7 separate regions of the Homo sapiens genome follow, and regions 2, 3, 4, 5, 6 and 7 are each linked to region 1. Evidence: promoter capture Hi-C in 16 types of primary human blood cells and fetal thymus (Javierre and others, 2016). All regions are on one chromosome and are shown on one strand. The core of a region is centred on a gene start or on the middle of the fragment in contact, and the rest is flanking DNA. Distances in the headings are between cores, read along the strand shown. Region 1 holds the start of RBM4B (RNA binding motif protein 4B). Region 2 has its middle 4.9 kb from the start of PELI3. Region 3 overlaps PC (pyruvate carboxylase). Region 4 overlaps DPP3 (dipeptidyl peptidase 3). Region 5 holds the start of BBS1 (Bardet-Biedl syndrome 1). Region 6 overlaps BBS1 (Bardet-Biedl syndrome 1). Region 7 overlaps TOP6BL (TOP6B like initiator of meiotic double strand breaks).

What was found. The method cuts DNA at HindIII sites, captures the fragments that hold promoters and counts their contacts. A CHiCAGO score of 5 or more calls a contact.
Region 2: a fragment that was not itself captured here is called in contact with the fragment with the promoter of RBM4B in region 1 in 7 of 17 cell types (M2 macrophages, naive B cells, erythroblasts and 4 more); the score reaches 9.8 in M2 macrophages.
Region 3: a fragment that was not itself captured here is called in contact with the fragment with the promoter of RBM4B in region 1 in 2 of 17 cell types (megakaryocytes and endothelial precursors); the score reaches 5.6 in megakaryocytes.
Region 4: a fragment that was not itself captured here is called in contact with the fragment with the promoter of RBM4B in region 1 in 14 of 17 cell types (M2 macrophages, M1 macrophages, naive B cells and 11 more); the score reaches 23.8 in M2 macrophages.
Region 5: a contact is called between the fragment with the promoter of BBS1 here and the fragment with the promoter of RBM4B in region 1, in 16 of 17 cell types (M2 macrophages, M1 macrophages, M0 macrophages and 13 more). The highest score is 17.5, in M2 macrophages.
Region 6: a contact is called between a fragment that was not itself captured here and the fragment with the promoter of RBM4B in region 1, in 1 of 17 cell types (endothelial precursors). The highest score is 5.9, in endothelial precursors.
Region 7: a fragment that was not itself captured here is called in contact with the fragment with the promoter of RBM4B in region 1 in 3 of 17 cell types (endothelial precursors, M0 macrophages and M2 macrophages); the score reaches 6.5 in endothelial precursors.

The regions. Positions count from the first base shown.
Region 1 is chr11:66,675,857-66,679,493 of GRCh38, forward strand. RBM4B (RNA binding motif protein 4B) reads right to left here and starts at 2,031. Exons shown (of 4, transcript NM_031492.4): 1 at 1,908-2,031; 2 at 812-1,235. The coding sequence starts at 1,223. RefSeq lists silencers at 1,644-1,753, 1,954-2,233. The HindIII fragment of the contact is 1,797 bases long and covers 1,045-2,841 here.
Region 2 is chr11:66,460,198-66,463,834 of GRCh38, forward strand. No RefSeq gene overlaps it. Among named protein-coding and RNA genes, the nearest start is that of PELI3, 4.9 kb to the right of the region's middle. The HindIII fragment of the contact is 5,660 bases long and covers 1-3,637 here.
Region 3 is chr11:66,882,379-66,886,015 of GRCh38, forward strand. All of the region lies in intron 3 of PC (pyruvate carboxylase), which reads right to left. Among named protein-coding and RNA genes, the nearest start is that of LRFN4, 27 kb to the left of the region's middle. RefSeq lists enhancers at 1-335, 336-1,073. The HindIII fragment of the contact is 6,228 bases long and covers 1-3,637 here.
Region 4 is chr11:66,486,293-66,489,929 of GRCh38, forward strand. DPP3 (dipeptidyl peptidase 3) reads left to right here. Exons shown (of 18, transcript NM_130443.4): 4 at 248-385; 5 at 976-1,050; 6 at 1,622-1,715. Among named protein-coding and RNA genes, the nearest start is that of DPP3, 7.7 kb to the left of the region's middle. The HindIII fragment of the contact is 8,189 bases long and covers 1-3,637 here.
Region 5 is chr11:66,509,093-66,512,729 of GRCh38, forward strand. BBS1 (Bardet-Biedl syndrome 1) reads left to right here and starts at 1,543. Exons shown (of 17, transcript NM_024649.5): 1 at 1,543-1,614; 2 at 1,921-1,997; 3 at 2,113-2,147. The coding sequence starts at 1,568. DPP3 (dipeptidyl peptidase 3) reads left to right here. Exons shown (of 18, transcript NM_130443.4): 18 at 1-565. The coding sequence ends at 159. RefSeq lists an enhancer at 1,405-1,454. The HindIII fragment of the contact is 5,944 bases long and covers 1,467-3,637 here.
Region 6 is chr11:66,526,832-66,529,753 of GRCh38, forward strand. The region is part of intron 13 of BBS1 (Bardet-Biedl syndrome 1); the gene reads left to right. It also overlaps a transcript of ZDHHC24 not described here. Among named protein-coding and RNA genes, the nearest start is that of BBS1, 18 kb to the left of the region's middle. The HindIII fragment of the contact is 529 bases long and covers 987-1,515 here.
Region 7 is chr11:66,819,108-66,822,744 of GRCh38, forward strand. It overlaps TOP6BL (TOP6B like initiator of meiotic double strand breaks), which reads left to right. Exons shown (of 15, transcript NM_001302084.2): 10 at 2,536-2,657; 11 at 3,457-3,567. Among named protein-coding and RNA genes, the nearest start is that of RCE1, 23 kb to the right of the region's middle. The HindIII fragment of the contact is 3,144 bases long and covers 12-3,155 here.

The DNA.
Region 1 (3,637 bases), core at 781-3,280:
GTTAATTTCAATTTACTAAGCCGCATGTGGTTACCATATTAGCACAGTTCTAGAGTCTTCTGACAACCTCTTGTGGTATTAATGACAACATATGTACCTTTATTATCGGTATAAATAGTATGATATGCTCTACGATGCTTGTACTGAAATTTCTTCAGAAGCGGGACCATCATTCCCATTGAGTCTGATATATTTAGAAATTTCCTTTTCTGAGGGTGAAATGAACAGGTGGAGCAGAACACTCCATGGCATGTTTTTTTGACTCTGCTTGAAGAGACTGCACAACTTTGATCAACAAAAAGATACTCCCGCAGATCCAGACTTGCCACCCAGATTTATAATATAGGGCTTCCTCTAGATGTCTTTTTTCTTCTTTCCCACCAGTATCCACCCAAAGCAGTAAAGAATATAAATCTTAAGCACTTAAACCCTCAAATATAAGGCTTCCTGATCATCACCAAAGAAGCAGGTAAGCCACGGACCTTTATCCTCCCTTCTCTCATGAGGTACTCGTTTCCCCAAGCAGATTACACTTCCAACAGCACTCGAATCAATGCAAGAATCCCGCAGGGTAAAGTAACCCACAGTTTGTGATTCTATGCAGTCGGTGAGCAACATCTTAGCAAACCTGAAAAGGGGAAGTGTTTGCTTCCCCAGGGGTAAATTATGCTTAAGAGCGGTAAACATAATCTATTATTTCCAGCTAAAACAGAATGGAAGAGACCACCCAGCAAGTTCTATAGTCTTGTGTTCTTGCCTGTTTTGAGCTAGACCCCACTCGGCGCTACTACCCAGGCCCAGAGCAGTTCACCTTGAAACTCTGTGTTGTCAAGGCCCCTGATGGCCTCCACTGCATCCTCTGCCCGCTCCATGTGTACGAAGGCATAATCTTTCACGATGTCACATTCGATGACCGGACCATACTCCTCAAACTTGGCTCGAAGCTCTTGGTTGGTACAAGTGGGGCTGATGTTACCCACGTGTAACTTGGTTGAAGCTTTGCTCTTATTCTTGCTGGCTTCCACGTTGATGTTCACCCCATGAAGCTTGTAATGGTGCAGGTTGCGTATGGCATCCTCAGCTGCCGTCTTGTCTTCTATGTGCACAAAGCCGTAATTCTTAATGATGTCACATTCCAGCACCTTCCCATACTGCTCGAAGAGTGAGCGAATCTCCTGCTCTGTAGCCTCCCGGGGAAGGTTTCCGATGAACAGCTTCACCATCCTGACAAGAGCCTGGGAGAGAAACACAAGACTTCAAAAGTCAGGGGTGTGGTGGGAAATTTCGGTGCACTGCAGCATTTTCGTCTAATCCTCCAAAGTTCTTGCACCTTCAAGACCCTCGTACAGACATTCATTATTCTTCCTCAATAGAAGAAGGGCGGTTTGTTCTCGAGAAGTGCGAGCTATGCGTGACATGCAAACAGGAGGTCGAGGGTCAGCATGCATAGCCCAGTCTATCATCTCCGTGAAGTGGAGCGCAATGAAATACCAGAATTAGCTGCTTCATGTCTTAAAATGAGGGAAGAGAAAAGCCCAAGCAAAGGCAAGGGGCATCAATCGCAGTGCGCCTGGTAACAAGGTTTTGGAGGGAAATCTGTGTACCTCTCCTGCGCGCACTAGCGCCTTTCAAGATACTCTAAAAAGAAAAAAGTCCCCTTTCCCCCAAACCGGGGACCAACCACCTCGCCCCCAGCGGCCCACCCTCCAGCTTCTTCGCCCCAACAAAGACTCGACCCGACCCCTGCCCCGCCTCCTTCCGGAGACCCGGCCCCGCCTCCTCCCGTTGTCTTCCCAGACCTCCCGCTGCAAAATGAGAAACCCAAATCCGGGCCGTGCAGTCTGCCGGAGGCCCGGCCCGACCCGCCCCCGAGCTCCCCACATCACACACACACGACCCCCTCGCACCTCCGGGTGGCGGCAGCGACGGCGGCTCCCACGTCAGAGAGAACCTTACAAAATGGCGACGGCCGCTCGAGCCTGGACGCGACCGGGCCCTTTCTCGCGCGCCAGCTCACGCACGCGCGAGTGCGCGCTGCTTCCCTCCCCTTCCCCTCGCGGGAGCCGAGTGACCAATCCCGAGGCTGCATACAAATGACCACGCAGCACGGGGGCGGGGCCTGTTGGTGGTGGCGCGGCGCCGCGGAGGTCAGCCCACCCCCAGCCCCAGCCAGCCAGTCACCACCCTGGAAAGGGTCGCCACTGCTGCGTCAGAGGGGCTCTGAACGCAACCACTGCCTAGAAAAGCGGAGGCCTTGGGGAGTCGCTCACCACAATGGGTCCTGCTCTTGGGCCCTTTGAGGGGGGCGGGGAGCTAATGACAGAGGAATCTCCCCGAGGGCCCTAAAAAGGGGCTTTTGTAGCGGGCTGGCCGGCTTCTGTGGCAGCTTGGGGCAACATTTCAAAAATACAGGTGCGCCACATTTTAAGCAAAACTAGTCATTGTTTTGTAGCGCTTTAAACATTATTTTAAAGTTTGTCATTGCAGAGGTGTTATTTATTGCTACGGAAACTGAGAACCAAGGGGCAGAAAGATAACCTGGCAGAACTGGGACAGGCCTAAGAGGCATTGCTACCCAGGCTACGCTTAGTCATGTTTTGTTTGCTCGTGAGTATCCGTGGTCTGATTCTCTCTCACTCATTGTGTGTCCATCACAGTCCTGGTCTGTGGTGAGCACGCCAGAGGAATACTTGGTGGAGAGGCCCAGCGAGGTCCCTAGTTCTGGGTGGGACAGGGTCTCCTCGTACACACCAAGCTGGAAGTCTAGGCAACTGAGTTTCCCGACTGTCTAGCATTCAAAATTCAGCTGTGGTCCAAGGGCACCTCCTGGCGGTAAAAACAAGCTTAGGCGTGCCAGGTGCGGCGGCTCACGCCTATAATCCCAGCACTTTGGGAGGCCAAGGCGGGCGGATCACGAGTTCAGGAGTTCGACACCAGCTTGGCCAACATGGTGAAACCCCGTGTCTACTAAAAATACAAAAAATAGCCCGGCGTGGTGGCGGGCGCCTGTAATCCCAACTACTCGGGAGGCTGAGGCAGGAGAATCGTTGGAACCCGGGAGGCGGAGGTTGCAGTGAGCCGAGATGGCGTCACTGCACTCCAGCCTGGGTGACAGAGCAAGACTCGGTCTCAAAAAAAAAAAAAAAAGAAGTTTAGGCTGATTCCCCACTGTCACCTTCCAGCAAAGAGTAGCCTTTTATGGAGATTGATGGATTGGGTTTATCTCCTAGTAGAGCCCGCCAGGGAGGTTGTCAGCCACCATTCCTCATTTTAGTGGCTCCATAATGGCTTCTCTGATACCATCTGGGACACATTCCCCAGGCTGCCCTCTTCCACCCCAGCTACTTGGATATGTTCTTTACCTGAGTTCTTTTTGTTTCTCAGCCATTTCAGAAGAGGCACTGTCCTTCCAATTTTATTTTATTTTTATTTTTTGTTTAATTTTTTAAAGACAGAGTCTCACTGTGTCGCCCAGGCTGGAGGGCAGTGGTGCGATCTCGGCTTACTGCAACCTCCACCTCCTGCGTTCAAGCCATTTTCCTGCCTCAGCCTCCCGAGTAGCTGGGACTACAGGCGTGCGCTACCCCCCAGCTAATTTTTGTATTTTTAGTAGAGACAGGGTTTCACCGTGTTGGCC
Region 2 (3,637 bases), core at 574-3,073, 220 kb before region 1:
AAAAGTCTGAAAGCCTTTGTATTAGTCATCCACTGCTGTATACCAATATACCACAAACATAGCAGCTTAAAACAACACACATTTATTACTTCAGTTTCTGTGGGATCAGGAGTCCAGGCATGGCTACGCAGAGTCCTCAGCATAGGGTGTCACATGACTTCAATCAAGGAGTCTGCTAGGGCTGTGGTCTCATCTGAGACTCAACTGGGGAAGAATCCTCTTTTTTTTTTTTTTGAGACAAAGTCTCACTCTGTCGCCCAGGCTGGAGTGCAGTGGCGCTATCTCGGCTCACTGCAAGCTCCACCTCCTGGGTTCACACCATTCTCCTGCCTCAGCCTCCCGAGTAGCTGGGACTACAGGTACCCGCCACCACACCCGGCTAATTTTTTTGTATTTGTAGTAGAGACGGGGTTTCACTGTGTTTCACTTTCACTCCCAAAGTGCTGGGATTACAGGCGTCAGCCACCGTGCCCAGCCAAAAAAAAAAAAAAAAGATTTAATGCCAGGAGTGAGGACAATAAAAAATACCTAAAAATGTGGGAGTAGTGAGCAGAGGCTAGAAAGACTTTAAGTATAGTGTTAGCAAAAGTCTGAAAGCCTTTGTATTAGTCATCCACTGCTGTATACCAATATACCACAAACATAGCAGCTTAAAACAACACACATTTATTACTTCAGTTTCTGTGGGATCAGGAGTCCAGGCATGGCTACGCAGAGTCCTCAGCATAGGGTGTCACATGACTTCAATCAAGGAGTCTGCTAGGGCTGTGGTCTCATCTGAGACTCAACTGGGGAAGAATCCTCTTTTTTTTTTTTTTGAGACAAAGTCTCACTCTGTTGCCCAGGCTGGAGGGCAGTGGCACGATCTCGGCTCACTGCAACCTCCACCTCCTGGGTTCAAGCAATTCGCCTGCCTCAGCCTCCCTAGTGGCTGGGATTACAGGAGTGCACCACTACACCTGTCTAATTTTTGTATTTTTAGTAGAGATGGGGTTTCACCATTTTGGCCAGGTTGGTCTTGAACTCCTGACCTCGGGTGATCCATACACCTCAGCCTCCCAAAGTGTTGGGATTACAGGTGTGAGCCACCACGCCCAGCCCAGAATCACTTTTGTTGGCAGATTCAATTGCAGCTCCAGGACTGAGGTTTTTTTTTTGTTTTTTTTTTTTTCCTTCTGCTGGCTGCTGGCTGCAAACCATTCTCAGCTCTTAGAGATCACTCTTGGTCCCTGATACATGGGCCTCCCCATATGGGAAGTGCACAAAATGGCAGCTTGCTTTTCTAAAGCCAGCAAGGAGTGAGAGAGACCCCAGCAAGACAGGTGCTACAAACTTATATAACATAATAACATCACTATGTGCATGTAATCAGGCACAACCCATCACCTTTGCCATATACTGTTGGTTAGAAGAAAGTCATAGGTCCTGCCCACCCACATTCAAGGGAAGGGGTTGACATAAAGGTGTGAATACCAGGAGTGAGGGATCATGGGACTACTTTAAGAAGACTGATGGCCTTAGAGAAGGCTGATAGTGAAAGCTGAAAGGAAAGTGGGAAAATATTATTGGATCTCAAGGGAAGGAGATCCTTGTTGTATAGTGGCAGGTAATTTAGCAACATTGTCATCCTTCATAATGTGTAGATTGGTATGGTAGCTCCTACCTGCAATCTCGACAACTCAGAAGGCTGAGGCTGGAGGATCACTAGGAGTTTCAGAACGGCCTGGGCAACATAGCTAGACTCTATCTCTAAAAAAATGTTTTTAAATAGAAATAAACTAAGCTGGGCATGGTAGCATGTGCCTGTAGTCCCAGATACTGCAGAGGCTGAAGCAGGAGGATTGCTTGAGCTCAGGAGCTCAAGGCTGCAAGTAATGCACCATTGCACTTCAGCCTGGGCAACAGAACAAGACTCTGACAAAAGGCAAGGAAAGAAAAGGAAGGGAGGGGAAGGGAAGGGAAGAAAGAAGAAAAAGGTAGAAGATGTGCCTAATGAAATATGTGATCTAGCTAAGGAGATTTCCAGGCAAAATGTTACAGGTAGTACCTTATTTCTTCTTCCTGCTTAGAGTAAAACATGAGAGTTGAGAGGCAAGTTATAAACTGACAGGAGCTCTGTTAAACCAAAAATAGTTAGAATTTGATGATTTTGAAAATTCCCAGCCTCAGCCAGGTGCAATGGCTCATGCCTGTAATCCCAGCATTTTGGGAGGCTGTGCAGGTGGATCACCTGAGGTCAGGGCTTCAAGACCAGCCTGACCAACAAGGTGAAACCCCATCTCTACTAAAAATACAAAATTAGCCAGGAGTGGTGATGCATGCCTATAATCTCAGCTACTTGGGAGGCTGAGGCAGGAGAATCACTTGAACCCAGGAGGTGGAGGTTGCAGTGAGCCGACATCACACCATTATACTCCAGCCTGGGCAACAAGAGCAAAACTTCGTCTCAAAAACAAACAAACAAACAAACAAAGAAGAAGAAGAAAATTCCCAGCCTCTCCAGCCAAAAACAATGCTAAAATTAAGAAATGGCTTCTGGAAAAAGATCACATCAGAAAAACATGGTATAAAGTTGAAGCCAAGAGGCCAACAGTATGCCTGTAAATTCCCTAAGACTTCAGGTCTAAGGCAATAGAACCATTCAAACAATAAGGGCTTCTAGAAACGTTAAAGGATTTGTCTATCAGCATGAGCCCAAGGTAGGGGGGCTTATCTCAAAGAGATTTGTGGGCATAGTCTAATGAAGTGAATAAGGTCCATAGAAATCTACAAAGTTTTTAAGAGAATTGTATTGGCAGAAACACTGACAACTTGGACTGTAAAGGACAGAGACAACAGAAATGGAAAAGAGGCATTCGAACCCTCAAACTTCTATAGACAGGATGCAGGCCAAGAAAATTACTCAGCTGCAAACACAGACTACCTTTTATGGAAAATGAAAGATGACTCAGGAAGTAGAACTAAGAGACCAAGAGCCATGGATTATTATTCTCAGGCCTTGCTTCAAGGGCTTTCCTCTAAAGCTAGAGACCGAGAACTGAAGCCCAGGTCGCCTCTGCTCTGGATCCCCAAATCCATGTGAGGGATCTGTCTTTTCCCAACCCCACCCTCCCCGTCTGGCATGGCCTCAAGGGCAGAACCTAGCATCTTAGCTCTTCCTTCTCCTCTCCAAATCTCCCAGCCCAGAAAGAATGTGCTGCTGTTGTTTTTTTCTCTTCTTAATTTTTTTTAGAGACAGGATTTTACTCTGTTGCCCAGGCTGGAGTGTAGTGATGTGATCATAGCTCACTGCAGTCTCGATCTCCTGGGCTCAAATGATTCTCCTGACCCAACCTCTTGCGTAGCTGGGACTACAGGCAGGCACCACCATGCCCAGCTAATTTTTTTAATTTTGTAGAGACAGGGTCTTACTATGTTGCCCAGGCTCGTCTCAAACTCCTAGCCTCAAGCGATCCTCCTGCCTTGGCCTCCCAAAGCATTGGGGTGAGCCACTGCGCCCAGCCCTGTTTTGTTTTTTCCACATGTTTTCTCAACTAGATATACAACTACTTTTCCAAACTATTCCAAGCCTCTCCCCTTCAGGCATTAGAACCCAAGAATTAAAGAAATAAAGTTTCGGCCGGGCGTGGTGGCTCAC
Region 3 (3,637 bases), core at 369-2,868, 210 kb after region 1:
AGGGCAGCAGTGGGCAAGAGGCCGCAGAGGAAGGGAAAGACCAGGCCCTGCTTCAGGGGCGGGTGGCCAGCAAGTTGGTTCTGAAAGCCCAGCAGAGCACCTGGGTCCCTCAGCAAATCCTCAGAGGTGTGCTGGAGAGCAGCAGAGGGCAGAGAAGAAAGAAGTGTGGTTCAGAAACAGGCCCCAGGAACCTCCGAACCAACAAAGCTCCACACACCTACTTCCTATGGGCCCAGCTGCCCCCAGCACCAGCACCCGCACCAGGCTGTGCCCCTAGCCCCAGCTGGGCTCCACAGCTGCCAGTGAAAGCAGGTCAGAACCAGAAAGAAAGAGCTCTTGGCAGAGCACTCGGGGCTGCGGCGGTGGCAGCTCTGACGGATGGGGCCGCTCTCCCCAGGCGGCTCTGCTCTAAACATGTCCGACGGGCCCCAGGGCTGGCAGCCAAGAGGGACAGATGAAAGAACGACTCCACCTGGCTCTCAGGGCTGCCACGGCTGATATCAAAGCACCCAAGAGAGGACAGACTGAGGCTGAGATTTCTGGGCAGGGGGGGCAGAAGGGAGGACGCTGGAAACAATGCAGGTGACAGACACAGAAGACAGGAGAGAGACAATACCAAAGACGGAAACAGACACAGCACGGGTGCTCGCCGAGGCTCAGCTGTCCGGGCTCTGGGCCCCCAGGAGCGCCGGCTGCTCCAAGTGGCACTGCGGCGACGAACAGCAGTGAACAGTGCCAGCAGGGCTCCTCATCGCCCTGGCAACCCTCTATTCAAAGGAGCAGCCGAGGGGGAAAGGGTGGCACCGAGGCGACTGGCGCCATGGTCTCGGGACTTGTGGACTGGGGGACAAAGGGGGTCTCAGAGAAAGCAGAGTGAGGGGTCCCGAGGGCCTGCAGTGAGGTGGCTGCTCCATCCCAGCCTCACTGGAAAGCAGTGAGAATTTCAGGGCCAACACTGCCCCCTGGCGCACGAGGAGCCAGCTTCCTGCCGACCCTGCAGCACGGGGTGTGGGCAGGGCTCACATGGGAAGGTCACTTGTCCCCATTCCTCCACATCCTATAGGAGTAGGCTCAGGAATGCCTTCCCTATATTCCCCGGGCAGCCACCTCCCTCAGCTCTGTCCTTGTCTGTGCCCCACCCATCGTCCTGCTCAGGGGGCTCTCCATGAGGTCTCCGTGGCGTCTGTGTCCTCAGCAAAGAGCATTTAATGTTATAAAGATTTGTTGACCCGTCTTGTCTCCTTTAATAGACACTGTTAGGGCCCTGGGCACAGGATCCCTGGTCTCTTTTGTCCCCACATCTCCCTGGCACTCTGTACAGTGCGTAAGACCAGAACTAAATAAATGTCTGAGGGAATGAATCAGTGAAGAAATACTTCAGGTCACAATGAGGTTGCAGAGTGGCATGAGGCTGTTAAGATTCACCGTGAGGCGTGGTGGCTCATGCTTGTAATCTCAGCACTTTAAGAGGCCGAGGCAGGGGTATCACTTGAGTCTAGGAGTTTGAGATCAGCTTGGGCAACATATTGAGATCCTGTCTCTGCCAAAAAATTAAAAAAAAAACTTTTTAAAATTAGCTGGGTGTGGCCTGGCACGTGGCTCACACTTGTAATCCCAGCACTTTGGGAGGCTGAAGCGGGTGGATCACCTAAGGTTGGGAGTTCAAGACCAGCCTGACCAACATGCAGAAACCCCATCTCTACTAAAAATACAAAATTAGCCGGGCATGGTGGCACACGCCTGTAATCCCAGCTACTTGGGAGGCTGAGGCAGGAAAATCGCTTGAACGTGGGAGGCAGAGGTTGCGGTGGGCTGAGATCGTGCTATTGCACTCCAGCCTGGGCAACAAGAGCAAAACTCCATCTCAAAAAAAAAAAAAAAAAATTAGCTGGGCATGGTGGTGCCCATAGATAGTCTCAGCTGCTTGGAAGCCTGAGGCAGAAGGATTGCTTGAACCTAGAAGGTTGAAGCTGCAGTGAGCCATGATGGTCCCAGTGCACTCCAGCCTGGGCAACAGAGCAAGACTCTGTCTCAAAAAATAATTAATCAATTAGTTAAAAAAAAAGATTTACCTAGAAATATTATGGAGCATTCAGATAAAGATTAGTAAGGCTTGGCCCCTCCTGGGAACAGCACACACACACTAGTGGGACACACAAATGTCCCATACATATTGATTAGAGCCCAAAGTGATGTTGACAGGACAGAGAGAGGGTCTGAAGGACAAGGTCAGCAAAAAGCACCTCCCAGACTAATGCAGAGCGTGCCTGTGCCCCCCACACCCATATGTTGAAACCTTGATCTTGGACTTCCAGCCTCCATAACTGTGAGAAATAAATGTCTGTTGTTTAAAAGCCACCCAGCCTGTGGTATTTTGTCACTAAAGCCCAAAAGGACTCAGACGCAGCCTGGCAATGGGAACCAGGGAAGCTGAGTTTCAGGGCTGCGAGGGGCGACAGAGGCTAGGGGCACCAAAGACTCAATTCTAAACAGAACTGGACAATCTTTGCAGGGAGGAAGATGCCAGGACCCAGCAGACACTTGCAGGTGGCCCAGGACATTTCCCGACCCTCTTCAGGCCACCCCACCCCTGCTGGAGAGCTTCACAGGACCTGCTCCCCACTCAATTCCCCTCGTTCCAAGATGACAGGACATGAATGCTGGCTGGATTAGAGAGGGCCTCCCAGAGGCCTTGGGGACTTCGGGACCTGTCAAGCTCAGGACAAGCGGGTGTCACCCGGTGTTAGAGGTTGAATTGTGTCCCCCACCAAAAAAGATACACTGAAGTCCTAACCCCTAGCACCTAGGTCAGAATGTGACCTTATTTGGGCCAGGCGCGATGGCTCACGCCTGTAATCCCAGCACTTTCGGAGGCTGAAGTGGGCTGATCACCTGAGGTCAGGAGTTCAAGACTAGCCTGGCCAACAAGGCGAAACCCATCTCTACCAAAAAATACAAAAAATTAGCCAGGTGTGGTGGTGGCTGCCTATAATCCCAGCTACTCGGGAAGCTGAGACAGGAGAATTTGCTTGAACCCGGGAGGCAGAGGTTGCAGTGAGCCGAGATGGCGCCATTGCACTCCAGCCTGGGCAACAGTGAGACTCTGTCTAAAAAAAAAAAAAAAAAAAAGTGACCTTATTTGGAAATAGGGTAATCAAGTAAAAATAAAGTCATTAGGGTGGCCCTAATCCAATATGCTTAGTGTCCTTATAAAAAGGGGGAAATCTGGACACAGACACACACAGAATGAAGATGTGAAGACACAGGAGATGACGGCCACATGACTGGAGTGAGGCAGCTACAAGTCAGGCAAGGCCAAGGACTGCTGGCAAACACCAGAAGCTGGCAGTGGCCAGGCAGGACCCTCCCAGAGCCATCCGAGAGAGCACGGCCCTGCTCACACCTTGAATTGGGGTTTCTGGCCTCCAGATGTGAGGCAAGAAGTCACCGTTGTTTTCACCCAGCTTTTGGCACCCTGTGATGGCAGCTGTAGGAATCTAATACACCCAGGTTGCCTACAAATAACCAGATCCTATACAGATCCTAACACCAGGGGCTGGAGAAGCACAATGATGGTAAAAATACCCCCCTCTCATCCGCACATCCTGATGCAGGCCACAGCGGTGGCTTTCAGAGC
Region 4 (3,637 bases), core at 289-2,788, 190 kb before region 1:
TTGTCTTGAACTCCTGGCCTCAAGCATCTCTCCCTCCTCTGCCTCCCAAAGTGCTGGGATTATAGGTGTGAGCCACCACACATGGACGCTTGACATTTCTCAGGACCTACAAGTGCTGCTGGTCCATGGACCACACAATGAGCCAGAGCTCTTAGATCATAGGAGAAGAGCTTGGGAGTGGGTAGGGAGGCTCTGGAAGGCAGGTTTGGGTGGTGTGACTGGGCCATTGGCCTCCCTTTCCTTGCAGGAAAAGCTGGAACGGGTGATCCTAGGGAGTGAGGCTGCTCAGCAGCACCCAGAAGAAGTCAGGGGCCTCTGGCAGACCTGCGGGGAGCTTATGTTCTCTCTGGAGCCAAGGCTTCGACACCTCGGACTGGGGAAGGAGGTGAGGCCCCTGACTCCCCCGAGGGGACAGGGAGTGGAGGGAATCCTTCAAGGCCACCTGGTAAGGAGGGAAGGACACGGGATGGGGAGGCAGTGGGCTCTGCCTCACACTCCTGAGGCAATGCTGCTCCCCACTGCAGGCCTCAGTTTTGTCATCTGTAGAATGGTAAGCATGTTGGGTCGAATGCTTTCTGAATGCCCTCCCAGATCTGACATTCTGTACACAGGATGCCATGTGCTGATGGAGGGAAGGAGAGGAAGGCTGGAGGTGGAGGGAGCTGAGGAGGGGATGGCAGGGAAGGAGGGGGGTCCCAGGTTTCCCACCTCTGGAGGCCACATCCGTTGCATGGGATGAGGACCTTGGCAAGCCTTAGGGGTGGGCCAGCCAGAGAGAGGCCTGGGCAGAGCTGCAGCAACACTGGAGATGAGCATGTTTGTTTGTTTTATAACTTTTTCCCCTGGAGGTAGATGGAGGGGTAAGGGGTAGAGGCTGCTGAAAGGAGGGAGGGGCGGGAAGCCTGGGAATATGACGTCCCTGCAGCCCTGACCTTGGCAACTCCTCTTTCTCATGTCCCCTGTCTTCCCCAACAGGGAATCACCACCTATTTCTCTGGGAATTGTACCATGGAAGATGCCAAATTGGCCCAGGACTTTCTGGACTCACAGGTTTGGGGTTAGGGGAGCTCAAGGTAGCAGAGGTTTGGTGGGGTTCCTAGTCCCAGCCCCCTCACAACTGGTGACCACTCCTGGGTCTCTGCTTGACTACTCCCTGTGTACTAGGGAAGGCGCGACCCCTGCCCACCCCAGGCTATAGAGCCTAATGACAGCCTCAGGGCAGGGCGAGGAACCAGGACCTCAGGCCACAGGGGTGTGAGGCTCCGGGGTCCATGTGTCAGTGGTGCTCCCAGCTCAGCCACTCACCAGCCATGTGATCAGTTTCCATGTCTGTGAAGTGGTACCCACCTCCAGTAGCCCTGGGTTCGCAGAGGCCGTGCAGTGCCTGGCACAGTGGTTGCAGTCAGTGCTTAGTAGAAGTGCACAGTGTCCTGAGCAGAGCAGGAGAGTCGGCCCTGGGCTGCCCACTCCCACTCTCTCCCACTCCTGCTCCCAGCCAACCCAGAAGGCCCAGCCTGCTTTGCCTCCATGCCTTCTCCCCTAGGGTTGACCCATTTTCCTTCCTCCCACCCCACTGCCCTCTCCAGACTTCACTCTTAACCCCTGTCCTGGTCTCTTCTAGAACCTCAGTGCCTACAACACCCGGCTCTTCAAAGAGGTCGATGGAGAAGGGAAGCCCTACTACGAGGTGCGGCTGGCTTCTGTGCTTGGCTCAGGTGAGCTTAGCCCCAGGCTTCCCTTCTGCTCCCTCCTGGGCATTTCCGGACCTGGGTGGCTCAGGTCCTACCAACTCTGCCACTCCTTCAGAAAGAGCATCCTTCTCTCCCAGGATTTTCTACATAAGTCCTGGGAATGGCTCTAGTTTCTCTAAATCAGTCCCCTATTTGTCTGTGAACCAATCCCTGAGGGCTGGCAAGGGACAGGTCTCTGATTGGCTCAACCTGGTCTCAAGCCTACCCTGGAGTCAGGCGATGAGGTTGGCCCTTCAGGCCGGGCATGGCAGCTCACACCTGTAATCCCAGCACTTTGGGAGGCAAAGGTGGGCGAATCACCTAAGGTCAGGAGTTCGAGACCAGCCTGGCCAACATGGTGAAACCCCATCTCTACTAAAAATACAGAAATTAGCCGGGCGTGGTGGCGTGTGCCTGTAATTCCAGCTACTTGGGAGACTGAGGCAGGAGAATCGCTTAAACCTGGAAGGGAGAGGTTGCAGTGAGCCGAGATCTTACCACTGCACTCCAACCTGGGTGACAGAGCGAAGCTCCAGATCAAGGAAAAAAAAAAAAAAAAAAAGAGGCTGGCCCTTCCCAAACCACCTGCACTTGGGGTAGTAGTAGTGGGGCCTGGGGTGGTATTCTCAAGGGGAAATTGGGGTCCATTCCCAGGAGAGAGGAAATAGTATGGACAGAAGTGTCCAGGCCTTTATGAAGACCTTTGCCACCTGGCTCTTTGTTCCCCACTCGCACCCCAGCCCCTGCTTCATCTCCACATCCTCCCACTCAGACTCTGTGCTCTGGCCATGCTCAACAGCATCCAGTTCTGATGGACCCTCTCTAGGTCTTTTTGTTTTTGTTTTTTGAGACAGAGTCTTGCTGTATCGCCCAGGCTGGAGTGCCCAGGCTAGAGTGCAGTGGTGCGACCTTGGTTCACCGCAACCTCTGCCTCCCGGGTTCAAGCAATTCTCCTGCCTCAGCCTCCCCAGTAGCTGGGATTGCAGGTGCCCATCACCATACCTGGCTAATTTTTGTATTTTTAGTAGAGATGAGATTTCGCCATTTGGCCAGGCTGGTCCTGAACTCCTGACCTCAGGTGATCCGCGTGCCTCTCGGCCTCCCAGTGTGCTGGATTATAGGCGTGAGCCACCGCGCCTGGCCCCTGTCCAGGTCTTTGCACAATCCATTCCCTGCTTCTCATGCGGAACCCCCTCCAGCCTCTCCTTGTCCCCTGGCCACCTCCTCCCCATCCTCTAGGCCATGCATGGACTTGCCTTCCCCAGGACCTTTCCCTATCTTCCCATAACTGAGTCTGTGCCCTTCTTTCTTCCCATCGGCACATTCAGTAGCTTCCCTGACTACAAGCTCCCCGAGAGGAGGGCCTGTGTGTTTCATCCACTGTTGTCTCCCTGGTGCCTAGCGCTTGGTGGATCCGAGCATCCACTGGGGAGATGATGGCAGATGTGGGTTCAGAGGAACAGGAGTGGATCTCACTGGAACATAAGCTGGGCCTATACTTAGAGTACAAGATGCAGTTTCGGGCAGTGGTTGAATGTGGCCCTGGAGCCGGACTGCCCGAGTGGGTCATAATCTATTGCTGTGGAACAAATGCTCCGCAAATTTAGTGATACAAAACCACCTTTTCATGCTCATGGACTCTGGGTCAGGAATGCAGGTGGAGCACAGTAGGAACAGCCGGTCGCTGGGTGACCATGTCTGGGGCCTCAGCTGGGAAGACGACAGCTTGGGGCCGCAAGCATCCCCAGGCTTGTTGACTCACACGCAGGTGCTGGCTGCCGGCTGGAACCCAGCTGGGCTGTTGACTAAAATACCTCATGTGGCACCCTCCTATTGTTCGTGGTAGCTGGGCTCCAAGAGTGAGCATCCCAGGAGAGCCAGGCAGAAGCCTGCTCACCTTGTGTGAC
Region 5 (3,637 bases), core at 293-2,792, 170 kb before region 1:
CTTCTGGAATACGAGGCGTCAGCTGCTGGCCTCATCCGATCCTTCTCTGAGCGTTTCCCAGAGGATGGACCCGAGTTGGAGGAGATCCTCACACAGCTGGCCACAGCCGATGCCCGATTCTGGAAGGGCCCCAGTGAGGCCCCATCTGGCCAAGCTTGAGGAAGATGTGTGGCCTTGCCCCCAATTCCATCAGACCAAGGCTGCAAGTGGCCCTCCATTCGTGTGTGTATTTAGGGGCTGGGGAGGGGGAGGGGCAGGAGCTTGGACCTTGGTACTACCTCAGCTGAGGGTGGTGACACAACCCCTTCCATTTGTCAGCACTTTCCAGCCTGCCAATTGCTTCCCCTCTGTGATCTCATTTCATCTGCACTGCCATACGTGGAGTGAGCAAGACAGGGCTTACCATCCTGTCTACCAGATGAGGAAATGGCAGTTCTGAGAAGTCACTGGTCTAGATCCCGCAGGTGGCACGTGACAGCTAGGGTTCAAAACGTTCTCACCAAATCCAATGCTCCTCACATATTAATTTTATAACCAGACAAATAAATATTAGAGACAACCACCATCTTTGCGGCGTGTGTGGCTCCTCCTTGCCTTTGCCTGTCTTCTCATTTACTCCCAGCAGAGTGATGGGCTCAAGGCCTGGGGAGGGGGCAAGGAGGGCCATTTTTAGCCTCCCTTCCACAACAGGATGTTGACATTATCTCTAGATGAGGATACGCAGTCACAGAGCTGAACATAGCACAATTTTTGCAGCTCTCCTTTGTGGCATTCCTTGCATTTTTAAATGTTCTGGGGCCGGGCACGGTGGCTCATGCCTGTAATCCCAGCACTTTGGGAGGCCGAGGCGAGGGGATCACGAGGTCAGGAGTTCGAGACCGGCTTGGCCAATATGGTGAAACCTCGTCTCTACTAAAAAATAAAGTAGCTGGGCATGGTGGCATGCGCCTGTAATCCCAGCTACTCGGGAGGCTGAGGCAGGAGAATCCCTGGAACCCGGGAGGCGGAGGTTGCGGTGAGCCGAAATCGCGCTACTGCGCTCCAGCGCAAGCGACAGAGCGAGACTACGTCTCAAAAAAAAAAAAAAAAAAAAAAAGTTCTGGGAACCTACAAACTCAACTTCAGTCAGAATCCTCTGCATTTGTCCCATAACCCTCGTGTTTTGTTTCTCTGGGCCTGGACCTCTACAGTAACGCAGCAAGGCAGGACATGGTCCTTTTCAACCGGGTAACCATGAAGATGGAGACAGGAGGAGTTCTTTTTGCTGCTCATAAATGCTAGAAGGGGCTTCTTTCCAACCCTGGAAGCCAGAGGGCTCTGTGGCTGACCCAGAGATTGTAGGACCCAGACGCCTGGAAAGGTGGCTCTGACTGGGAAGGAGCAAAGATAAATATCTTTGAGGAATCTGAGACAGATTCCTCAACCCAGGAAGGTGGCCAGCGCGTCCTCCTGAGCCTGGGTGGGAAAGCTTGGCGCCCGGAACCTTTGTACTCGCCCTTCCCTGTGCTCGGGCACTATTGGGCGTTACGCGAGGGCGGGGCCGGTTGCCAGGACGACGCCTGCGAAGATGGCCGCTGCGTCCTCATCGGATTCCGACGCCTGCGGAGCTGAGAGGTGAAGGCAGGGCTCCTCAAGGCCTCTTTTCCCACCCGTGTAAAGAGGGTCCCTTGGTCCCCGGGCTCTGGGCTCCTGCTGTTCTCGGGCAGTCTGGAAGGACTCTTAAGAGGTCAGATAGGGAAACCGAGGCCTAAGATGTGCATATGTGTGTCTGGAGGTCGCTCGGTGAGCCAGTGGCGGAGCCTGGACTTGTACCCAGACGTTCTGTACCTTATGTTCAGAGTGACCTGTACCAGCTTCCTCAAAGTTTTTTTTTCCCCTCCCATGGGACTCACTCCCCAACTGTCTTTCCCCCACTTCCAGCAATGAGGCCAATTCGAAGTGGTTGGATGCGCACTACGACCCAATGGCCAATATCCACACCTTTTCTGCCTGCCTAGGTGAGTCTCTGGAACCAGGAACCCTGGGTTCTAGTGGGATGGGGAGTCAGACAATGGTCCTGTAGTGAAGCCTCTGGGATTCTGAGACTCTGGTTTTGGCCCTTTTGTTTTCCAGCGCTGGCAGATTTACATGGGGATGGGGAATACAAGGTAAGCATATCACCCTAGCCAGGAGAGTTGAGGGTAGGGGGGTGTACCCAGAAATGAGATTTCCTGACGGCTGAAAATAGGCCCAGCATACTCTGGAATTCACATATACTGTGAAAAAGCACATTTAGCGTTAAATTTTGTTTTTATATGGAAAGTGAAGAGAACTTATTGATTTCATAATACAGACTGCAGAAAGTAAAGCAGATCAAATATTTCTGGGGATTCTACTAAGACAAAGCCTCTTAGTTAACCTGATTTCTTTGTTGGAAGGGCAAATCCCTTGGTTGGGGGTGGGCACTAGAATCTGGAGGGAAAGTAAAAAGGAGGGAAGTGAACGTTTGATGTTTATCAAAAGATTTTAAGATGGGCCATGAGCTGTCAATTTTTGAAGCTGGATAATGGGATATATGGGGACTCATTATATGAGTCTCTCTACTTTTGTATGTGAATGAAAATTTTCCATAGTAAAAATGTTACATTTTAAATTTAATTTTAAGGCCAGCAATCCCAGCACTTTGGGAGGCTGAGGTGGGTGGATCGCTTGAGCTTAGGCATTCGAGACCAGCCTGTCCAACATGGTGAAACACCATCTCTACTAAAAATACAAAAATTAGCCGGGCATGGTGATGGGCACCTGTAATCCCAGCTACTTGGGAGGCTGAGGCAGGAGAATTGGTCAAACCCAGGAGGCGGAGGTTGAGTGAGCTGAGACCATGCCACTACACTCCAGCCTGGATGACAGAGTGAGACAGTTTCAAAAAAAAATATATATATATATATGTGTATATATATGTATATATATGTATATATATGTGTATATATATGTATATATATATACATATATTTAATTTTAAATAAAAATGTAAATTTAAAAAGATACAAGTTTTTTAAAGGTAGAGAAATATATTGGGATAAAAGAAAGGAAGTTAGCATGGATTCAGTATCCATTTCTGGACTAGACATTCCATGGAGGCACATAAACATGGATTTTATTTATTCCCATTTTGTGAATGGGAAAATAGTTTCAAAGAGGTGAAGTTTACTGAATTTGTAACTGGGTCTGTTTGATTCCAAGTTTTGTGCTTTTTCTACCAAAGCTCAGCCCTCACCATGGGCAACAACACCACAATGGATATATCATGTGGGTGGCTAGAAGATAGTCCTGGAATCCCACCCCACACAGAGAGTGCAATAGGACTCAGTGGTTTTTGCCCCCAAATTCCTATCCATAATGTATTCAGTAATTCAGCAAGTGTATAGTGAGTCCCTACTGTGTGTCAGGCATCATGGGGACACTACACTCAGAAATGCATCAGCATGTGGTCAGGAGGAGATACACTGTCGACAATTATTCCATGATATTGATTGAATACCTAGTTTGTATTTGGCTCTGGGCTTACAATAGTGAGGGAAGAGAAACCACAGACACAGTAGCTAATAAGAAATGTTAGCCAGGCACAGTGGCTCATGCCTGTAATCCCAGCACTTTA
Region 6 (2,922 bases), core at 1-2,500, 150 kb before region 1:
CCTTCTTCCTCCTCCACTGCTCCTACACAGCAAAGCTGGGGGAATGCTGCCCAGCCTCCCTGTGCACTGGGAGGAGATCTCGGCCAACTAGGTAGGTCACTCACCTCTGCAAATCCAGGGACAGCCTAGGAGGTACACGTTGCCTGCAAATCACTGTTCCTCAGGCTGGAAGGTGCTGTGGGTGACAGCAAGAGCCCTTAGAATTCAGGGAAGGGAGCAGTCACTTCCAAACGCAGGAATTCTCATGAGGAAAGTAGAATTTTGACTGGGCATGGTGGCTCACGCCTGTAATCCCAACACTTTGGCAGAGGTGGGAGGACAGCATGAGCCCAGGAGTTCAAGACCTACCTGGGTAACATAATGATACTTCTTTCTCAAAAAAAAAAAAAGAGAGAGAGAGAAAGAGAAAAGTAGAATTTGACCAGTGTCATCTTGTCCAGTTTTTCCTGCCCGTTTATTTGTTCATTCATTCATCGTTCGTTCATTCATTCATTCAGTACCTATGATTACACCAGGCCTTGTGCCAGGTGCCTTTAATTAGAATAGTCCCTACCTTGGGCCAGGTGCAGTGGCTCACGCCTGTAATCCCACCACTTTGGGAGGCGGAGATGGGCAGATCATGAGGTCAGGAGTTCAAGACCAGCCTGGCCAATATGGTGAAACCCTGTCTCTACTAAAAATACAAACATTAGCCAGGCGTGTTGGCATGCACCTGTAGTCCCAGCTACTTGGGAGGCTGAGGCAGAAGAATCGCTTAAACCCAGGAGGCGGAGGTTGCAGTGAGCCAAGATCATGCCACTGCACTCCAGCCTTGGTGACAGAGCGAGACTCCGTCTCAAAAAAAAAAAAAAAAAAAAAAAGAATAAATAATAGTCCCTACCTTAGGAACTCAGTCTACCTGGGGCCAACTTCATGATCATGTGTAGAAGGGGTTTCTGCAAAGAGCTTTTGGAGCACACAGAGGGAGTAAGGACTTCTGCCTGGGAAGCTTGGGAAAGGCTTCAGAGCGAGGTGACTTTGGGCTTCACCCTAAAAGATGATAGCCAGACCCCCAGACAGGGCAGGGCAGGGTAATATAGGCAGAGGCACAGGGTGTTGACCTGGATTCAAGAAAGCAGGCCCGGTTCGGTGGCTCATGCCTATAATCCCAGCTCTTTGGGAGGCCGAGGCAGGCAGATCACCTGAGGTCAGGAGTTCGTGACCAGCCTGGCCAACATGGTGAAACCCCCTTGCTACTAAAAATACAAAATTAGCTGGGCATGGTGGCACACGCCTGTAATCTCCTTAGGCAGGAGAATCACTTGAACCTAGGAGGCAAAGGTTGCAGTGAACCAAGATCACGCCACTGCACTCCAGCCTGGGTGACAAGAGCCAGACTCCGTCTCAAAGAAAAAGAAAATGTACAAAGTCTAATAAAGTTGTAAAACTATCTTCAAGAACAGAAAAGACCACCTTCAAGAATGCTTAAGTGGAGAGAGTTACCAAGTTGCAGGATGGGAAGACCTAATGCTGTAAAGCTTGAAGTTGCAGTTAAAATCCCAGTGGGGTTTGTTTTAAGGACCTGGCCAGTTGATTCAAAGAGTAAACCTAAGAAGATTGGGGAAAATAAGAATGAGGGGACTTACCCTATCAGGTAGCAAAATGAACTCAAGCTGTGGGAATCAGAAGCTGTGGTGTGGATGCAGAAATAGAATGGAGATCAGGGCAGGATTAGGAAGTCCAGAAACTGACCCTGAACATGTGGAAAGTCAGAGTGTGTGAAAGGTGTCATTTTGAATTGGCAGGGAGATGTGAGACTGTCCAAAAACACACAATCAGGACAACTTGCTTCTAGAAAAGAAAATTAGACCTTTTCGGCCAGGTGCGGTGGCTCACACCTGTAATCCCAGCACTTTGGGAGGCCGAGGTGGGCAGATCACCTGAGGTCAGGAGTTCGAGACCAGCCTGACCAACATGGTGAAACCCCGTCTCTACTAAATACAAAAAATTAGCCAGGCTTGGCGGCGCGTGCCTGTAATTCCAGCTACTCGGGAGGCTGAGGCAGGAGAATCGATTGAACCCGGGAGGCAGAGGTTGCAGTGAGCTGAGATCACGCCATTGCACTCCAGCCTGGGTAACAAGAGTGAAACTCTGTCTCAAAAAAAAAAAAAAAAAAAAAGGAAGAAAATCAGACCTTTTCTTCATACCAGCCACAAAAATTAATTCTGGATAGATTAAAAATAAATTGTAAAAGTACTAGAGAAAAAGCACATAAAATGTGAAACTCTTGAATGGCAGAAGCCACTTCACACATAAACGGAAGAGCGAAGCCAGCCTGGGGGACCGAGGTGCCCAGTCTGGAAGAGGAGGGACAGTGGGGTGGGGGCGGGGTGGGCCCTGGAGGTGGCTTGGGGAAGAGTCATGTGATCCTGCAAACGGTGAGATGTGAGGGGTGGACCTAGGTGACTTGATGGACAGGGAGGCAGTGACGGAGGCAGGACCATGAGGCTGGTTTCCGCAGCATTGAGCCTGAGGTGTTGATGGGACCTCCCTGTGGAGATGAGCAGGAGGCAGGCGAGGGTGCTCACTAAGCTGCTGGAGACACATGCACAATATCGAGCGTGGACACCAAGGACTCCTCTTTGTGGTGGTCAGAGCTGTGGCAGGACATGGATTGTCTGGGGGAAGAAGATGGAGGATGAGAAGAGGACCATGGACCAGACTCAGGAGAACACCAGCCTCTAGGGCCGGACAGAGAAGCCAGTGAAGGAGCTAGATAGTGCAGGCAGGGAGGTGGTAAGAGAGTGAGAAGAGGCAGGGCGAGGCCACGGCGTCGAGTTTTGCCAGAAGGCTGGGCTCTTTCCCTCCTCCCCAGCTCCTGCAGACTCCTCCTGCAGCACCCTCCTCTTGCACCCTCCCCACACCAACCTGAGCAGGAGTGCC
Region 7 (3,637 bases), core at 334-2,833, 140 kb after region 1:
ATATCCTTAAAAGCTTTCTCTAGAGCCTCTTTTTTAGGAAACAGATGGTGCAAAGTTAGTCTGTTTCCATGTGTCTTTAAGAAAATTACTTAATTGGCCTTATGCCCACCTACCTTGTCATGGTAACTTTTCTGTGATTAACTCATTTTTTTTTTCTTGTGACTAACTCATTATTTTCCCCAATGTCAAAAGCATTTGGTGGTCAAAAGTTTTAGGAATGAACTTTGACTTTTAAATTAAATGTCTGCTTTCAAAAGAGATCTGATTTCTTGAAGCTGTTCTTAAAACCAAACTATGGAAAATACCAATCTAGATGATACATTAACATAGCAATAGCAATATTTTGAAACTGTACAGTGTACATTTCAAAACACTTCATGGGCTAGGCACTGTGGCTTGGCTCCTGTAATCCCAATACTTTGAGGGGCCAAAGCAGGAGGACCGCTTGAGCCCAAGAGTTCAAGACCAGCTCGGGCAACACAGCGAGACCTCGTCTCTACATATACAAATTTGCCCGGGCATGGTCCCTCACACCTGTAATCCCAGCACTTTGGGAGGCCGAGGCGGGCGGATCACACTGAGGTCAGGAGTTTGAGACCAGTCTGGCCAACATGGCGAAACCCCGTCTCTACTAAAAATACAAAAATTAGCTGGGTGTGGTGGCAGGCGCCTGTAATCCCAGCTACTCGGGAGGCTGAGGCAAGATAATCACTTGAATCCAGGAGGCGGAGGTTGCAGTGAGCCGAGATCACGCCATTGCACTCCAGCTCGGGCAACAAGAGCAAAACTCTTGTCTTAAAAAAAAAAAAAAAAAAAAAATTGGCCAGGCATGGTGGTGGTGTACACCTGTGGTCCCAGCTATTCGGGAGGCTGAGGTGGGAGGATCACTTGAGCCCCGGTGGTCGAGGCTGCAGTGAGCCAAGATCGTGTCACTGCACTCCAGGCTGGGCAACAAAACCCACAAAACACTTTGTGTACATTATCGCAGTTTATCTACACAACATACCTGTGAGAGCAGGTGGTATAAAGCCATTTTCTATACTGAAGAAAAGATTTCATCACCACTAGTTGATGGCAGAATTGGCCCTAGAATCTATGTTCTCCCTGACTCCAGCTCCAGAATCCTTTTGAGCTTACCATATATTACGTTCCCTACCAGGAAAGGATCATGGTGCCTTGTGGTAGAAAATGTTCTTCTGGTTTGCATTTTTAATACAGTCCTGGAAAAAGCCAGCCAGTTTTAGGCTGCTTCCCATAGAATTCTGAACACTGAAAACAAAGAATAATCAAGAAGGATTTTCTCCAGGTGACCTGTAAATTTGGCTTCCTGTGCCTGCTGCATCGGGATCATTAAATGGTGGCCTATTGTTTGATGGCATAGTTTTTTTGCCTGTTGCTCTCACATATTAGCTTTTCTGAATGAGACTGAGCAGTGGTGCCTGTGGTTACTTTAACAGAGATAATCTCCCATTTAAAAGGACCTCATACCAACAGTTCTGTGTCATCTCTGTGAATTTTAACCTTTTCTTTACCACAGTACGTCTGAAAGCACTGCCACAACAGTGATGTTCACATAGACGTAGAGTAGGGTTAGACACACTCTATAGGACCTTTGCTTCTCCCTTTCTCCTCTCCTTTGGGAGTCACTGGGATTGTTGTTTATAGTACATGGTATATATTTCTGCTATGAATTAAACAGGATCCCTTATTTGTTTCTTTAAAAAATAATGTCATTCTCCACCTTAATTTTCCTGAGCTTTCTTAGATTTATGAGTGGGAATTAGGTAGGTGTGTAAGTTGCTGGGAGATTTTGTCTAAAAAAAGGTAATTATTTGTGGATATGTAGGGGTCTCTTCTTCCAAGAGGCATCTTTCCCACTCCCAGTCCTGACTCAAAGCACATGAACAGCAATCTTGAAGTAGTTATCCTCGCTCATGGTTAATCCTTGGATAATGCAAGCCTGATACCATGTTCTGAGCCCTACTGAACATTTCTAAAGAACTCGGATTCCTCAGAAACCAGTGTTATCATTCCTGAACTACTGTGATAATTTGTACACCTCTGTTTAGCTTGATTCTGAGGGCCTGCAGTATCTCAGTCGTTGTACTCAGTATTGGATTTAAAAGAAATTCATCAGTGTATTAGTAAACAAGTGTCTTAAATCTTACACATCTGGTAATTTTTTTTTTTTTTTTTTTGAGACGGAGTCTCACTCTGTCACCCAGGCTGGAGCGCAGTGGCACAATCTTGGCTCACTGCAAGCTCCGCCTCCCGGGTTCACGCCATTCTCCTGCCTCAGCCTCCCGAGTAGCTGGGACTACAGGTGCCCGCCACCGTGCTTGGCTAATTTTTTGTATTTTTAGTGGAGACGGGGTTTCACCGTGGTCTCGATCTCCTGACCTCGTGATCCGCCCGCCTCGGCCTCCCAAAGTGCTGGGATTACAGGCCACATCTGGTAATTTAAGACTAGCTTTTGCAGATGCACAGTGAGGGGAGGTAGATATAGTGATAATTTTACCTTCTCCCTCCCCTTAGGAGTCTATACTTTGCTCACAACTCATCTCAATGCCATCCTTGTGGAGAGCCACAGTGTAGTGCAAGGTTCCATCCAATTCACTGTGGACAAGGTCTTGGAGCAACATCACCAGGCTGCCAAGGTAATAAGGAATTCACAGCCTCTTTTCTCCTATTCTCTAAGAAAAAGATAGCAAGCATATATGGCAGGCAGGGCCCAGGAGCCCTTCCTCCCTTAATGCCCCTTCCTCTCCTCTTCTGTCACCTGGGTGATCTTGTAACACTGCATCTAGCCTACAACTCAAACTTTAGCTTAGATGGATCACTGTAACCAGCTTGCTTAGTCTTACCTCCTAGTAGGTGTGTTTGGGTAAATAGGGAAATAGTTAATAGGGAAAAATGGCTGATAACACACCTCTTCCTTATGCATATAATTCCCCTTCCCACACAGACTTCTGGAGCTGCTGTTTCGCTGTGTCTTACATTCTTCCCCCATTTTCCTAATTCTTTACACCACCACTTTCTCTCCTTACCTGATTTTCTACATCCATCCATCCTGTGTACTTTTGGTAACACATTTCTTACCTCATATGGCCCCCTTTTCAGGGAAAAAACAACCACACTAAGAGAGCAGAACTAAAAGCTTTTTTTTTTTTTCCCAAATAGTGTGTCTGTTTTCTTGATCATTGTCCTATTGCTTGTCTTCTCTGATGTGTCTGTGTCAGTAAGTCACCTCTGTGAAATGCAAGAACATTTTAAAATTTTATTTTAATTCCCTAAGTGTTATGATGTAAAAATATGTGAGGATCTCAGTAACTTTTGTTGATGGATAGGAAGAATTGTTGAAATCCTGCTCTGATGGAAATGTGTGGGCCCTCTGGGATTCTCTAAACCACATCTTGGGATTCATGCAGTCTCCCCCTTACTTGTTATGTTCCCCAGGCTCAGCAGAAACTACAGGCCTCACTCTCAGTGGCTGTGAACTCCATCATGAGTATTCTGACTGGAAGCACTAGGAGCAGCTTCCGAAAGATGTGTCTCCAGACCCTTCAAGTTAGTAGGAGATTGGGATTGGGGATGCTTAAAAGTGCCAGGGTTTTGGCTGGGTACGGTGGCTCATGCC